Regions from separate parts of the Homo sapiens genome. Here region 1 is linked to region 2. The links are contacts of gene promoters, found by promoter capture Hi-C in human tissues and cell types (Jung and others, 2019). All regions are on one chromosome and are shown on one strand. Each heading gives the region's core, a stretch centred on a gene start or on the middle of the fragment in contact. The rest is flanking DNA. Distances are from core to core; before and after follow the strand shown.

The links. The method cuts DNA at HindIII sites, captures the fragments that hold promoters and counts their contacts. A contact is called where the count stands out against the background at its distance.
Region 1: a contact is called between a fragment that was not itself captured here and the fragment with the promoter of MLNR in region 2, in 2 of the 25 tissues and cell types used here (IMR-90 fibroblasts and dorsolateral prefrontal cortex).

The regions. Positions count from the first base shown.
Region 1 is chr13:48,743,054-48,746,260 of GRCh38, forward strand. No RefSeq gene overlaps it. Among named protein-coding and RNA genes, the nearest start is that of CYSLTR2, 91 kb to the left of the region's middle. The HindIII fragment of the contact is 6,090 bases long and covers 1-3,207 here.
Region 2 is chr13:49,218,832-49,221,877 of GRCh38, forward strand. MLNR (motilin receptor) reads left to right here and starts at 1,507. Exons shown (of 2, transcript NM_001507.1): 1 at 1,507-2,407. The coding sequence starts at 1,507. RefSeq lists silencers at 937-1,193, 1,130-1,389, 1,460-1,539. The HindIII fragment of the contact is 10,157 bases long and covers 1-3,046 here.

The DNA of each region.
Region 1 (3,207 bases), core at 334-2,833, 480 kb before region 2:
GATGATGTCCAACTTATTGATTTTCTTCCATAAATCATGGTTTTTCATATCACATTTAAGAACTTTTCACTAACCCTAGGTCCTGAAGATTTTCTCCTATGTTTTCTTTTGAATTTTTTATAACTTTGTGCTTTATATTTAAGTATATAAATTCATTCTGAGTTATTTTTTCATTTAAAAACGTGAGGTTTATTTTAAAGTTCTTTTTATTGGCCTATGGGTGTAACTACTTCAGTACCATTTGCTGAAAAGATTATTCTTCCTCCATTGAATTGCTTTTGGATCTGTCAAAAATCAGTTAATTTGTGCATCAAAAGACACTACTAACAGAATAAATAGGCAGCCTACATGATACAGTTTTGATGTTGTCCCCTCTAAATCTCATGTCTAATTATAATCCCCTGTTGGAGACGGGGATGGGTGTTTGGGTCATGGGGACAGATCCTTTATGGTTTGGAGGTGTCGTCAAGATAGCAAGCAATTATGAGATCTGGTTGTTTAAGTGTGTGGCACCTCCCCCCTCCCCACCTCTTGCTTCCACTCTCACCATGTGACTGTCTGCTCCCCCGTCACCTTCTGCCATGATTGTAAGCTTCCTGAAACCTCCCCAGAAGCTGACCAGTTGCCGATGTCATGCTTCCTGTACAGCCTGCAGAACTATGAGCCAATTAAACCTCTTTACCTTATAAATTACACAACCTCAGGTATTTCTTTATAGCAATACAAGAACGGCTTAATACACCACAGAATGGGAGAAAGCATTTGGAAATCACATAGCTTACAAGAGATAAAAATCCAGAATATATAGAGAACTCCTAAAACTCAGCAACAATAACACAGACTGATTCAAAACTGGGCAAAGGACTTGAATAGACATTTCACCAAAGTACATGTAAAAATGGTCAATATGAGATGCAAATCAAACTACAATAAGATACCACCTCACACACATTAGGATGACTCCTATCAAAAATATCAAAAATAGCAAGGATTGGTGAAGACGTGGAAAAATAGGAACACTTGTGCACTGTTTGTGGGAATATAAAATGGCACAGCCGCTGTGAAAAACAGTATAGTATTTCCTCAAAAAGTGAAAAATAGGATTGCCGTATGATCTAGCAATTCCACTTCTTGGTATATACCAAAAAGAACTGAAAGCAGGGTCTCAAAGAGGTATTTGTACACCCATTCTCATAGCAGCATTATTTACAGTAGCTAAAATGTTGAAGTAACCCAAATGTACATCAATGAATGAATGGAAAAGCAAAATGTGGTATACCCACATGCTATGGTTTGACTGTGCCCCCCAAAGTTCATGTGTTGGGAATTTAATCCCCAATGCAACGGTGTTGAAAGGTGGGACTTTTAAAGAGATGATTAGGTCATGAAGACTCTGCCAGCCATCATAAATAGATTTATGCTGTTATAATAAGGATTGGCGTATTGCAGGATTATCCAATAACCAATTGAGTAATCGCATGATCATCCAATTAGGGTTCCCAGGTAAAGTATGAGCCCTCTTTCCCTCACTCTCACTCTCTCTTGTTTTTCTGCCTTCTGTGATGGAATGACACAACACAAAGGCCTTCACCAAATGCCAGTGCCATGTTCTGGGACTTCCCAGCCTCCATAACTGTACGTCAAATAAATTTCAGTTCATTATAATTTACCTAGTCTGTGATATTTTGTGATAGTAGCATAAATTTGACTAAAACACTATCCAATGGAATATTGCCCTTTAAAAGGAAAGAAATTCTCCAATATGCTATAACATGGATGAACCTTATGTTCAGTGAAATAAGTCAGTCACAAAAATACAAGTACTATATGATTCAACTTATATGAAGGAATATGAGTAGTCAAAATCATAGAGACAGAAAGTAAAAGGGTGGATGCTACAGACTGAGGGGAGGGAGTTATTATTTAATAACTAATTATTATTAAATAATTATTAATTATTTAATGGGTATAGGGTTCCAGTTTTATACTATGAAAATAGTTATGGAGATGAATGGTGGTGATATTTGTACATTATGAATGTATTTAATACTGCTAAACTGTACATTTAAAAATGGTTTATATAGTAAATTTTATGTTATATGTACTTTACTTAGAACAATAAAAAATAAGTTGAGCATATTTATGCGAGTTTATTTCTTGAAGCTTTATTCTGTTCCATTGATCTATGTTTGTTTCTATTCCTTCACCTACACCACACTGTCAAGATTACTGTAGTGTACATGGTCTTAAAATAAAGTAGAGTGATTCCTTCCAATTTATTCTTTTTCAAAATTGTTTTAGCTATGCTAATTCATTTGTCTTTCCATATGAATTTTAGAATAAACTAGTCTATAACTATAAAAAAATTCTCACTGGGATTTTGATAGAAACTGCATTAAATCTATAAATCTGTACGGGGAAAACTGACATCTTTATTATGTTGAGTCTTCCAATCTGTGAATATGTAAGTCTTTCCATTTATTTAGAGCTTCTTTGATTTCTTTCATCAGCATTTTGTAGTTTTCAGTATACAAATCTTGTACACGTTTTACTTGAAAAATCGAATAAAGTAATTTTAAGTCATTGATATAGGTGATAAGTATAGAGATATATCTGTAACTTTTTAAATGGGACCAGGTACAAAAAACAAATGATTTGAAATGGATCTAGGTACCGAAAGCAATGCTGCACATTTTATCTTTCCCCCTGCCCCAGGGCAACAAGAAGGGAAACAAGTGAGAGCTGCCAAGGGTGAGGTTTGACAGCACAGGACTCTGGGCAGCCAGATACTCCACAGAGAAGGGAGCCCAGAAGAGGGTGAAGGGTCTGTGAAAGGGATGTAGCGGGGATATCCCAGATGGTCTTCCCCTACTTCATAGTATTGCCAAGGAACACCCAGGGCCAGTAACAGCTCAGGGGAGGAATAGAGGCTTGTGATCTCTTAAGCAGGAAACCCACAAATCCTTTAACCAAAAAGACCCTATATGAGATCCCAGTTTCCCACTCAACTATGGAAAGGTGATACACATAAATTTAAAATTATCCAACAACTTAGAAAGAAATTCAATCATAGAAAGTGTGCTCATCCCAATCTGTTCACCTATCACACCCACTGTGTTAATATGTTCTTCTTAACCATCTCAGAGTACTTCTCCTTGCTGCCAGAAAATCATGATGGTGAACAAAGACAAAGAGAGAATTTGATTA
Region 2 (3,046 bases), core at 257-2,756:
CCAGGTGTCAGGTCCAGAATCGAGACTCCAGAGAAGAGGTTGAGGATTTAAGCCACTGAGGGGGTGGAGCTGGGCAGTGAGTAGGACGTCAGGCTTGCAAGCTCTGGGATTAGGCCGACCAGAGCCCATATCCCAGTCCCGCCTCTTACTGCCTGCTTGATCTCAAGCAAGACCGCTTTGTTCATGGGCGAAAGGAGCGCCCCGGGCCATGAGGATTAAATGGAGAGCACAGGGCCAGATCCATCTAAATTCTCAGTAAGTGTTAGCTATTGTTATTAAGACCACACCGAACAGACTGAACATCCGTTTTAGCCCCTTTCCCCAATTTTCGTTCTTTCCGGTGTTGACAAATCCTCTAGTTTTTTAAGTTTATAAAACATGTTGTACATAAGAATGACATATCACATGTGAAAGTACTCTAGTGTCCACGTAAATATTTGTCTTGTTCTTTATAATAAGTAAACATGCTCACGGATCCTTGAAATTATCTGGTCACTGCCGGGCGCGGTGGCTCACGCCTGTAATCCCAGCACTTTGGGAGGTCGAGGCGGGTGGACCACCTGGGGTCAGGAGTTCGAGACCAGGCTGGCCAACATGGCGAAACCCTGACTACACAAAAAACACAAAATTTAGCCGGGGCTTGGGCGCTCCTGTGCTCCCAGCTACTCAGGAGGCTGAGGTGGGAGGACTGCTTGAGCCTGGGAGGTCGAGGCTGCAGTGAGCTGTGATCGCGCCACTTAAACTCCAGCCTGGACGACAGTGAGACCCTGTCTCAAGAAGAAAAAAAGAAAGAAAGAAAGAAAAAAAGAAAAAAAAGAAATTATTTGGTCAATTATATGGTCAGCTCCCTCCACCACTCGCGAATTTACAGAAGAGGAGAACTGGGCTGGGCGAGACCAGGACTAGCCCAAGATTACACAAGTTACTCGGTTGTAGAGCCAGGATTAGACAGGAGAGGCTCTAGATTCTGGTCTAGACTCCCCTCCTATTATTTAGCATTATGGCTTCCTGAGGATTACCATGAGCCCTCCTCCACCGTCAAGCGGCAGCTACCAGCCACCAGACCAGATCCCTTCGAAGGTGCCCGGAGTACCAGACTGACAAAAGCGCCCGTACAGTGCTCAGTCCTGTAACCAAAGCTGTCTAGGGTGCAGACATCGCTCACCGGACCGGGTAGGGCTCGTGCGCTAAGGGCGCCGGGTATTCCAGTTAGTGGAGAGGGAAGCGCCCTGGAACTGCATGGGCCCGGGAGAGGGCGCGGGAGCGGAGCAGGGCCGGGCCGGGGCGGGCCGCGGCCGTGGGCGGAGACTGCGCGCAGCTAGCTCGGGAGCGCCTCGGAGCCCACCCCGCAGAGCCGCTTCTCGCGCCCCGCAGCGCAGCGCAGCGCTCCGCCGTCTGACCTGCCGCGCCCGCAGCGTGCGGGCTGGGAAAGGAGGCGCTCACCGAGAGGGACCACGCGCCAGGCTCCCAGCCCGACCCGGGACGCGGCGGCCGCGCGGAGCACCCATGGGCAGCCCCTGGAACGGCAGCGACGGCCCCGAGGGGGCGCGGGAGCCGCCGTGGCCCGCGCTGCCGCCTTGCGACGAGCGCCGCTGCTCGCCCTTTCCCCTGGGGGCGCTGGTGCCGGTGACCGCTGTGTGCCTGTGCCTGTTCGTCGTCGGGGTGAGCGGCAACGTGGTGACCGTGATGCTGATCGGGCGCTACCGGGACATGCGGACCACCACCAACTTGTACCTGGGCAGCATGGCCGTGTCCGACCTACTCATCCTGCTCGGGCTGCCGTTCGACCTGTACCGCCTCTGGCGCTCGCGGCCCTGGGTGTTCGGGCCGCTGCTCTGCCGCCTGTCCCTCTACGTGGGCGAGGGCTGCACCTACGCCACGCTGCTGCACATGACCGCGCTCAGCGTCGAGCGCTACCTGGCCATCTGCCGCCCGCTCCGCGCCCGCGTCTTGGTCACCCGGCGCCGCGTCCGCGCGCTCATCGCTGTGCTCTGGGCCGTGGCGCTGCTCTCTGCCGGTCCCTTCTTGTTCCTGGTGGGCGTCGAGCAGGACCCCGGCATCTCCGTAGTCCCGGGCCTCAATGGCACCGCGCGGATCGCCTCCTCGCCTCTCGCCTCGTCGCCGCCTCTCTGGCTCTCGCGGGCGCCACCGCCGTCCCCGCCGTCGGGGCCCGAGACCGCGGAGGCCGCGGCGCTGTTCAGCCGCGAATGCCGGCCGAGCCCCGCGCAGCTGGGCGCGCTGCGTGTCATGCTGTGGGTCACCACCGCCTACTTCTTCCTGCCCTTTCTGTGCCTCAGCATCCTCTACGGGCTCATCGGGCGGGAGCTGTGGAGCAGCCGGCGGCCGCTGCGAGGCCCGGCCGCCTCGGGGCGGGAGAGAGGCCACCGGCAGACCGTCCGCGTCCTGCGTAAGTGGAGCCGCCGTGGTTCCAAAGACGCCTGCCTGCAGTCCGCCCCGCCGGGGACCGCGCAAACGCTGGGTCCCCTTCCCCTGCTCGCCCAGCTCTGGGCGCCGCTTCCAGCTCCCTTTCCTATTTCGATTCCAGCCTCCACCCGCCGGTACTTCCCATCCCCCGAGAAAACCATGTCCTGTCCCCCAGGAGCTCTGGGGGACCCCAGGGCGCTTTGAGGGTGGGATCCCCGGATCCGATTCAGTAACCAGCAGTGCTTTTCCAGAGCCTCTGAGACCAGAAAGGAGAGTTGGTAATTCTTAATCCAACCACCTGTTAGATGCCACAGATGAGGAGTCCTCACAGTGCTCTTGAGAAGACGAGGGAGATTTCATTAAGCTAAAATTTTTTATTTAATGTTAAGTGATGCTGAAGGCTAAAGTAAACCTTGCTCGTATCAAAAAGTAAAGATTGTGCAGACCTGTTGTAGAATTCTTTTCAACAGAGAACAGAAAACTTGTCTCCGAAGTGGGTTTGTGGAAGGAAGCCTGCCAAGGCGGCTTGTTCAGAGAAATTGCTCCTTCTGGTTTATGTCCAGCCTTGATAACACATATGGGAGCCTACTATGCAGTTTTAAAGCAAGTATCCATGCAGCCT